Regions from separate parts of the Homo sapiens genome. Here region 1 is linked to region 2. Evidence: promoter capture Hi-C in 16 types of primary human blood cells and fetal thymus (Javierre and others, 2016). All regions are on one chromosome and are shown on one strand. Each heading gives the region's core, a stretch centred on a gene start or on the middle of the fragment in contact. The rest is flanking DNA. Distances are from core to core; before and after follow the strand shown. Region 1 overlaps MIAT (myocardial infarction associated transcript). Region 2 holds the start of PITPNB (phosphatidylinositol transfer protein beta).

Region 1 (5,120 bases), core at 1,206-3,705, 1.2 Mb after region 2:
TGGGGAAGTGACATGGATTCAAAGCCAAGTGTCTTGCCCCAGGCAGAAGGATCTGTGTGCAGAACACCCAGAGAGGCCAGGGCCTAGGCAGCAGACGTGTTCAACCAGGTTTGAGGGGCCTTCCTCCATCCTCATACTTTTTTTTTTTTTAGGTGTCTGCCATGTGCTGAGACCCTTATATTGACGGGAATCCTCACTGCAACCTGTAAGGTATCAGAACTCGCATTCTACCACTGAGGAAACTGAGGTTGAGAGAAGTGAGGTGACTTACTCAAACTCACTCAACAGGAAGTGGCAGAGTTGGTGAGTCTTATTTGCATTCTCTGTCCTGGAACGTGGGTCTGCACAAAGATCCCAGCCCATAGGCAGAGCCTTCTGGAGCCTTGGCTGCCCCCATATCCCAGCCCCTTGAAAGGCCCATGAGCTGCACAGTTAGTAGGATCTGGCTGCGGGGGGGTGGTTAGTAGGGCATGCTCGGGCCTGGTTAGTGGGTTAGTTGGTTGGCAGAAGGCCAGGCACCTCGTCACACGCCACAGCGTCCCGGCTGAGCCCTGGGTTAGTAGGTTAATCACACCATGCAACACTGCCCCGGCCCCTCCAGCTGCAGCTTCAGAGGCCTCCCGCCCCCACCAGCCAGGGAGTGGGGCCTGACCAGGGCAGGGGGTCTAACTCTAAGCCCCCCAGCCCCATCAAAATCAACCCTAACCACATGGACCCTGCCCAAAAGCATGTTGCTTCCCTATTTATTGGCTGTGGGTCTCAGAGCACCCCCTGCAAATATTTCAGCTCCCCTGAAAATGGACCCTACTTGTCCTAGACAGAAACCCCCTGCCTGGTTCTGGTCAGCCCCTTCCCAGAGGGCTGGATCCTGTTACACTCTGACAGACACACGCACACCCGCATCTCTCCGCAAAAGATCTGACAACCGTGCTTAGTAGACATCTCTTCCATCACCGACTGTCAGGCCTCTAGTTTCTCCAACTATTGGCCTGCCCTCCCACCATTAGAAAAAAAAAAAACGCATCAAGCTGGCCTGGCTCCTGGAACCAAGTTGAGACTCCCCCACGCCCACCCGGTCTGCTTCCTTTTCAGCCAATGCTACAAAGCACCTAAGTGTACCCTAATTATGCCATCTTCTATCACTGCTGTACTTTTCCCATAGAAACCCCAGCCTAGCATCTCCCACAGTTCTAAACGATGTTCCATGAGAAAAAGATTCTACGGCCATAAAAGTCAAGGAACACTTCATCCTATGCCCTGTCCCTGAGTATTTGAAATTGCCATTAGCATTTTAAAGGTTCTGATAAGTCCTGCACTACTTCAGTAGTGCAGCGGAATTTGAATTAGAACCTGCTTTTTTTTTTTTTTTTTTTTTTTTAAGGAGCAATGACATTTCCTAGAAGTTACTTTAAGAATTTCCCTAGAGGGTCGGGTATCATCTCAGCCAGATCTTTCTCATCCTTCAAGGCCCTGTTTGGTACAGCTTGCTAGGAAGCTGTTCCAGACTGCAGCAGCCCTCTCTGGGGTCTCTCTACCACTTCCCAGGCACTCAGAACTTGTGCCTCAGTAGACTGTTTTGTGGCACTGTCCCATTCTCTGATTCTCCATGTGAGCTGGTTTTATCCCATCCAGCATGGCTGTGAAATCCTAAAGGTTCAAACCCCAGCCACTCTTCACCTATATTTCCCCCAAATGGCTAGCACGGGAAAGGGCCCAAAGTAGGTGCTCAGTGCTGATGAGAGAGTAGAATTTAAATACCCCAGGAAGCATTGTGAGTTACTACGGAGGCCATGAAATGCTGCCACCTCCCCAAGCTGATTAAAGAGTGATACTAGGAAAATAGGTAGGGAAGGGCTAATCAGAAATGCCTCTGGTTCAGAAGATGCTGAGTTTTAAAGTCCAGAGAGCCAAAAAAAAAAAAAAATAGATAAACCCTAAGTCTATACTCCCAGATGGATGGGAGCATTTGCTGAGCACCTACTGGGAGTCAGGCACTGTGCTAGGCACACAATCTCACTGAATTCTCCCTGCACCTGACAGGCAAGCACATTCCTTCCATTTCACAGAGCATCGGAGGCTCAGAGGTGAAGTAACTTGCCCAGGGTTGTAGCCCAGGCCCTTCTCAGGACACGGCTCTCCCAGGGCCTCCGCCTCCCTGCACTGAGCCCTGCCAGTTCCATATGTCCTCCGAAGCACTCCTGAGCCACCCCAGCATGGTACCTGCCACTCTCCGTGTCTGCTTCCCATACCTCTCTGCTCCTCCTCCCCATCCCTGGGTGGGGGCGGGAATTCTGAAGGGGAGAAGGCTCTGACTTTCCATGTTTGCGGTGACCACCCTGTTAAGAACTGAATGGTGTCCCCTCCCCCAAATGCATATGTTGAAGCAGTAGCCTGCTATGTGACTGTTTTTGGAGATGGGACCTTTAAGGGGTTAAGGTTAAATGAGGTCATAGGTTTAAGCCCTAATATGGTGATATTAGTGTCTTTATAAGAAGAGGAGGAGACACCAGAGCCTGCTCATGCTCTCTGTCCCTCTCCACAGAGAAAAGGCCATGTGAGGACATAGTGAGAAGGTGCCACCTGCAAGCCAAGGAGAGAGGCCTCACCAGAAACCAAGTCTTAACACCTTGATCTGGACTTTCCAGCCTCCAGAACTGGCAGAAAATAAATTCCTGATGTTTAAGCCATCCAGTCTGGCATGGTGCTGTGGCAGCCCAAGCTGATGAATAGTACACACCACTCCGCATTCTGGGAAAAAGGACATCTGGCTTTTAAACTTGCCTAAGGGAGGCCACAAGCTGCTCTCTTGCAAACGCTGGGACTGTCTCCTCTGGAGGGAGCTGGAATTGCAGATTGTGGGGCCTGTCCTGCCACCTTCTGTTCCCCAAGAACAGAATCCAGGAGCAGTGCAACTAGAAGCAGCGATCTGATTGGAGAAGAGTGTCCTGAGACTGGGCTAAGGTGACCCCTTAAGCCTTTGGGTAAGACTGGTTCCCTTTGGATGGCAGGAAAAAAAACCCAGGGCCACCTGTCTCTTTCTAGTGAATTTCCCTAGCCTAAATCTTATCTCTTAAAGACCCTCTCTTTTCAGGATGGTGCACTCTCAGCCCCTCTGGCTGCCCCTCCCAGAGTTCAACAGCACAGGGGGAAGGCTCCAGCTCCTCCCAGATCCTGACTGTCTCCTCTTTGTAACCATCAGGGAGAGGAAAAGCATGGAAAAGCCCCACCAAGGAAGTCCCCCACAAAATGACAATTACGCACTGAGCAAATGGAGACAAAGGACTCCAGCCAGCGGCACCCGAGGAGCTGCATCTGCCCTCTGCCTGACAGCCCCTCCCCGACTCCCATCCTTGTTCCTGTCCCCATCCTGTAGGGTCCTTTGAGACCCAGCCTTGGGGAAAGTGTGGTCAGTGGGGACTTGGCCCAGGCCAGGCTCTGTCTGGTCACCGGCAGAAACGCGAGGAGGAATCAAGTTCACATGGGGCAGGAAAGGGCCCCCAGACCCAGACAATAGGGCCCAGCAGGCAGGGCCCGAGCAGGTGAGGAGGGAGTAGTGGGCTGCCAGGCCTCCCTCATACCCCTGGAGCTGTCCTCCAGAGCCAGATCAGTCATCTGCTGAGCATCAACCAGGAAGAGTTCCTATCCATGGGAGGCTCCATCCCAACAGGTGTGAAGAGGATGAGATCTTCAGGGAGTCACCCAGCGGGCTAGAAAACCACCGGAGTCTGACCGCTAAGTCACTGTGGCCAGAATCCAAGGTCACCCGAGGTCCAAAGAGAAGTCCAGGCCAGGAGTCCTGGAGATGCGGCCCAGATGGAGCCACCTGGGGGAGAAGACAGCGAGTGAGGATGAGGCCACAGCCTCCATCCCCAACTTCCCACATCCCCCCAGCCTAATTCTGCATCTGAGGGGACTCATGTTCAGAGATCCCCCCAGTCTCTCATGCCCCCAGCACACACACAGGGTGGAAGTGAGGGTTTTGGACATGAAACATTTTTAGAAGAAACTTAGGCCAGGCACAGTGACTCCCACCTGTAATCCCAGCACTTTGGGAGGCTGAGGAAGGAGGATCACTTGAGCCCAGGAGTTCGAGACCAGCCTGGGCAACATAATGAGACTCTGTCTCTACAAAAAATAAGCCAGGCATGGTAGCATGCACCTGTAGTCCCAGCTACCCAGGAGGCTGAGGTGGGAGGATGTATTGAGCCCTGGAGTTCAAGGCTGCAGTGAGCCGTGATCATAACACTGTACTCTAGCCTGGGCAACAGAGTGAGACCCTGTCTCTGAGAAAAAGGAAAAAAAAGTTGTCTAAAAAGAGGAAGCAATGAAAGCTGAGAATACCCACCAGGCAGGGTTAGCTCAGGGGACCAGAGGAAAAGCAGTAAAGGGAGCCCATAGCAAGCTCCAGGAGCATCATGGGCAGAGACAGGGCAAGGGTTTGAGGGGATGGGAAGGACTTTCAGAGGCCTTTGATGGCTTCAATTCATTTTACAACATTCCCACTGGGAGGATCTCTGCACACCACCACCCCCAACATACACACACACGCGCGCATACACACACATACACGCGCACACACATGCACGCATGCACACACACACAGGCATGCACACACATGTGCACACGCACACACACACACACACACACTGCTCCCAGGACGAGGAGCTCACCCCCTTGCCGAGACTGTAATAAAGCGTGTTCTGACATGAAGATCTGAGCAGATGGGATCATGTCTCTGGGTTCACCTCTGCGTCCCCAGCATCTGGCTCAGAGAAGTTGCTTGGTCCATGCCGGTGCTGAATGAAGGGACTTGCTAAATTCTCTGCTCGAGCTCACCCACAATGGTCTTGATTCCATCCCACCCACCCCCACCAAGACCACACAGAGCAAGCATTCCAGCCACCTGGCTCCCTGGCCATCTTCTCATGAGCAGGAGCGTTCTGGGCCTGAGGAGGGGGCACAGGTGGGAGGACAACCTACCCCCATGAAACCAAGCTCCATGTGACCTCCCTCCCTCCCTCCCCACATCCCTCTCAGGCTTACCTGGCAGCATCCAGCCGACACACAGGCAGCCCAGGCTCCCAGCTCCTTCCTTCCCCACACAGACCCCACAGGCCCAT
Region 2 (4,784 bases), core at 1-2,500:
ATTTTTTTGGAGGCAGCCCTAACTCCACAGATGTATTCCACTATCAGATACACCAGATGTTTATACAAAAATGTTTTCGTGATATTTTAATCGTCTTAATAGCCTTTCAACAGGTTCTCATGGTTCTTAGAAGACAAATTCTTTACTATGGCCTAGTAATCCAGTTGGTCCCAGCTCATTTCCCACCCTCACTTAGGATGTTCTGGCCACATCTGCCCTCTAGCTGATCCTTGAACACCCTAGGCTTACTCCATCCTCGGGTCATATTTCCCTCCAACTGGAATGCCCCTCTCACATCCTAACAGGCTAGGCTCAAACACCGCCTCCTAAGACAGCCCTTGTCTTGAGTCCTCTGCTTCTCCCAGTACTCCACTGTATTCATAGCATAGCACTTCCCCACCACCCCAAATTCTCCCTGCTTTCTTTCCAAGTGAGTTGTCTCCTCTAGACTGTGAGCTTCTTGAGAACAGGGACTGTGTCTGCTTCTAGATGCATCCCCACTGCCTAGAACCGTGTCTGACACAGAGCAAGCCAGCGACCTCCGGGCTGCGGCTTTGAGGCCCACGGCGCTTTCGGTGTAACTGCGCGAACCAACTCCTGAACAGCCCGCTTTCCTGGGTCTCGAGGCCAAGGGCCTCTTTTCTCCCAGAGGGCCTCCGTCGGGAGTGCTGGCCGCTCATCCTGCCGAGTCACAGGTGAGGTTTAGGATTCTCCGCCGCGGTGGACCTCCACGAGACCGCGAAGCAGGTGAACGTCCTCCCGCGGAACCTGAGCTGCCAAGGGCTGGGGAGGGGAACAGAAGCTGGCGTCGGCTGCCTCCAGAACCTGTCAGGAGTCTTTTATGTGGACTATGGAGGTGAGGTGTCGGTCAAGGAGGTGGGCCCTGACTCGGAGCAGTGAGAGAGAGCAGAAAACCAGTCACCGCAAAACGGCTTCCAAAGAACCAACTGGAAAACTCACCGGAAAGCGTAGGCTGCCCAGACGCCCCGAGGGACCAAAGCTGAAGGGAGGAGCCCTCGTAAGCAGACAAGAGTGCGCGCGTCGAGCTTGCGCAGCCGCAGTAGAAGCCGCACGCTCTTCGGCAGGCTGCGCAACCGCAGTGGAGGCCTCGTGTGCCCGGGGTGGGGCACGAAACTGGGCGGAGCTAGGCCCCCTCGCGCGCTGACGCGACTGGTCGCGGCGGAAGGGTGTAAGCACGCAGGCGCGATGGTGGCTCGGGGGGGCAGGGAGGCGGGGCCGCGCAGGCGCTGTGAGAGGCGGTAGCGGCGGCGGCGGCGGTGGTATCGGCGGCAGCTGTGAGGGGGTTCCGGGAAGATGGTGCTGATCAAGGAATTGTGAGTGGGTCTGTGGGCGCGAGCGAGGCCGTGGGACGGCAGTGATGGGAGATTTGTTGATGGAGAAGTGGTAGGATATTCCTAAATCGGAGTCAGCCCTGTGTCAGCCCCTCCCTGCGGGCGCCCCCTCCCTCCCCCGGCCCCTTCGAAGCCCCTCAGCGAGTGCGCCCCTCGGCCCTCCAGGCATTGCCGTGGTAACACGCCCTCTCCCTTCCCCGGGGCGAAGGCGGCTGGGTCCCGGCCCGAGCGCATGGCTCGGGAAGGCGCGGCCGGGAGTTTCCGCTGGGACCCGCCTTCTCCCCAACCCCCCACCCCCAGGCTGGGTCTGGGCCCACCCCCAGGCCCGCCGGTGGGAAGGAGCCGCAGTCCGAGGGTGGGAGAGACACGTTGGTTCTGACTGTGATTTGTCGTCCGGGGTGGAGTCCCCTGGTAACCAGCGGGAGATGGGCTTGCCGGTTGAAGGCAGCCCTCGTGTCAGGACTCGCGGTGGGACGCTGGCGCCTTGAAGTTCGTGGTGGAGCCGGGATTCCGGAAAGCCTCCGCTCTCCTGGGCAGCTCCGCTGACTTGACGGGAGAGCCTTTTCTCTTTTTGGTTTCCGCATGTTTTAAGATGAGGTGACATCCCGGGCCCCACCTACTTTCTTAGAAGTTAACACGTGCTCTGTCAAATGGAGGGATTTCGAGGTGCATCCGACTGGCCAAGTGATTTTGTTGAAAAGTCACGGCTTTTCCTACTGGCAAGGACTGTAAACATTACGGAAATCTGCTTGCCTCTGAATGTTCGTCTGTCACAGCTGGTTCGTGTCGTCAGCATCCTTTGGGCAGCTAGGGAGGTCGAGTATGGCCCATTCGTTGGTTTTCAAATTCTTCATTTTAAATTCTTAGAAATATTTTTGGCTTAATTTAGCTTTTTTCAGACACCTTATTTTTAGTGTTCTTAAACCTCCTTTAAAAAGTCACTGATGCACTTCTCTGAGACTTAATACCTCCCAAAGACTCCCTGTCTCACCCAGAATAAAAGTCAAAGCCTCTGCAACAGCTACAAGGCTTTACACTTTTTTTTCCTGCCCTGATCTCATTTACTACCTTTTCCTTGCCCATTCCATCTTCGCAAGCTTCCTTGCTGTTCCTCTGCTACTCTAGAATAAGTTCAGTTCAAGACCTTTCCACCTGCTTTTGTTCCCTTTGCTTGAAGTGTTCTTCCCTTGGCACACTAACTCACCTTCTTCCAGGTCTTTGCTCAGACGTCACCTTCTCAGGGAATCCCTTTCTGAAGACCTAATTGTAGTTCCCACTATTTGGGGTGGTATTTGTCTTCCCTGCTTTATCGGTCTCCATAGTACTTATCACCATCCAACATGCCAATACAATTTATTATTATTATTTTTCTCCTACTAGTTGTGTTCTCTTTTTACATGTAAGGGCCATGAGTTTGTTTTGCTCACTCTCATATCCCCAGTTTTTAGAATAGTCCCTCGCATGTAATAGGTGCTCAGTAAATATTTGTTAATGAATTGATGAAAAATGATAACTTTGGTCAGTGACAGGGATTTTGAGAAGAGACATTTTGCCTTTTTTTGGTAGAGTGAAAATTCTCAATTAAAGCTTATTTATAGTACTGAATATTGGGTTTATATAAAACTTTTCTTCCAAGTCGTTTATACAGTGTATCAAACAAGTGTTCATTACTCTGACTTCTAGATGATGTGGGTAGATGGGTGGCAGACACTAAAACAAATGGAGAAAATAAGAAGGAAATTGACTTGGACCAAGTTACACAGCAAGTGAGTTGCAGAACTGATTTTAAATAGATCCAGTCATTTTTCTTTCATTGGAGTATTTCCTCCCTCCAAAAGTGTTACAGACACACAGTATTCAGTAGATCCCTTTGACAGTATGTGAGTAGTATGAAGCTAACTCTTGGAAAGCAGTTCCTATTGGGAATTTGCGCACTGTGCTTTTTGCAAACATTTGCTTTCATTATGAAGATTTAAATGTACCCAGATAATGAATGTTGACACGTGCCCAAAGTCTAATTATTTTTCCCAAAGAGTTATAAATTAAGTTTCTTGATGTTAACTCTTCATGTGTATCTCCCCTAGATTTTTTTTCCTCCTAGACTTTTTGAAGGTAGAAGCTGTTTCTTAAGTAATGTCGGTATCTAGCACAGCATCTAGGCCTAACATGCTCTAAAGAATTCAGTGTTGTTCAATGAAAAATTGATACTTCTTACTCTCAAGTCAACTTTCTAAAATTCTTGTTGGTTAGGAGCAATGAATAGCTTATTCCTATGTGAAGATATTGGTAACTAAAATACTTTGGCAAATGTTTGTTGTCTTATAAAATTCTTTTTTATTTTTATGTTTTTTTTTTGAGGCGGAGTCTCTGTTGCCCAGGCTGGAGTGCAGTGGCATGATCTCTGCTCACTGCAACCTCCGCCTCCCAGGTTCAAGCGATTTTCCTGCCTCAGCCTCCCAAGTAGCTGGGACTACAGGCGCACGCCACCATGACCGGCTAAATTTTTTGTATTTTTAGTAGAGACAGGGTTTCACCCTGCTGGCCAGGCTGGTCTGGAACTCATGACCTCAGGTGATCCGCCCACTAAGTGCTGGGATTACAGGTGTGAGTCACCGCACCTGGCCCTCTATTTATTTTTTTATAAGAATTAAAATGTTAGAAATGACTTTCGAGGTGGGCTGTTTCCCTTCAAGTTATTATTTAAGCAGTAGATGAAGTTACCATTAATGTAAAGTCCTGGTTTTAAAGAACTAGTTACTGATTCCATTTGGAAATTATTTTTATGAGGATTTTCAGACATTTGAACATTTTCAACTGGCACTGAAAGTTGAATACTGCTTTTAGAATAACAACAGAAAATCAAAGCCTGTATGTTCCTTTTCCCTTTTACTTGTTAAGCAAATCTTGAAGAAGTTACTTGACTCATTGTTCTGAATGTCTTAATCAGTCACTTTAATTTTTTGAAAGAATTTCCTTGAAAGTGTTCTTAAATAAAAATAGGGATCTTCCTGTTAGTGAGTGTAAAATTACTCAGCAGTGATTCTTTGGTTTTGTGAAACTTAAGGGAAGACTAACTCTTCTTTCTCTATCCCTTCCTTCCATTCCCTCTGCAGTCCATCATCTTGGTTCAGGCCTTTGTGACAGTTCTTGCCTAGCCTCCCAAAAGATAGCTTTCCCCACTTCTCCTGCTTGTCAGTGTTTTCAACCACCTGCAGATGACTTCTTCAGGTCAGCAGTAGTTGTCACTTACCTCTTGGACCAACCTTTTGGGATTCCTTATTGCCTGATGAATTTAATGGATTTCTTACCATAGTATTCCAGGTCCTGATAATCTGCTCCCAACCTATAGCTTTCTAGTCTTCCTCTCCCTCATTTTATGCTCTGGGACAGTGAGCAAGTTAGTGTATACTGAGAAGAGAAATGATTCGGAAT

The links. Contacts are between HindIII fragments. The CHiCAGO score rates a contact against its expected background, and 5 or more counts as called.
Region 1: a contact is called between a fragment that was not itself captured here and the fragment with the promoter of PITPNB in region 2, in 5 of 17 cell types (total CD4 T cells, naive CD4 T cells, total CD8 T cells and 2 more). The highest score is 11.2, in total CD4 T cells.

Annotation. Positions count from the first base shown.
Region 1 is chr22:26,666,861-26,671,980 of GRCh38, reverse strand. It overlaps MIAT (myocardial infarction associated transcript), which reads right to left. Exons shown (of 5, transcript NR_033320.3): 3 at 5,044-5,120; 4 at 4,671-4,796; 5 at 1-3,823. Among named protein-coding and RNA genes, the nearest start is that of MIATNB, 3.4 kb to the left of the region's middle. RefSeq lists enhancers at 2,822-3,404, 3,405-3,988. The HindIII fragment of the contact is 9,187 bases long and covers 1-5,120 here.
Region 2 is chr22:27,915,722-27,920,505 of GRCh38, reverse strand. It overlaps PITPNB (phosphatidylinositol transfer protein beta), which reads left to right and starts at 1,250. Exons shown (of 12, transcript NM_012399.5): 1 at 1,250-1,334. The coding sequence starts at 1,315. It overlaps TTC28-AS1 (TTC28 antisense RNA 1), which reads right to left and starts at 1,130. Exons shown (of 5, transcript NR_026963.1): 1 at 961-1,130. RefSeq lists enhancers at 730-909, 80-1,064, 1,065-2,050 and silencers at 1,220-1,289, 1,480-1,799. The HindIII fragment of the contact is 2,643 bases long and covers 1-2,451 here.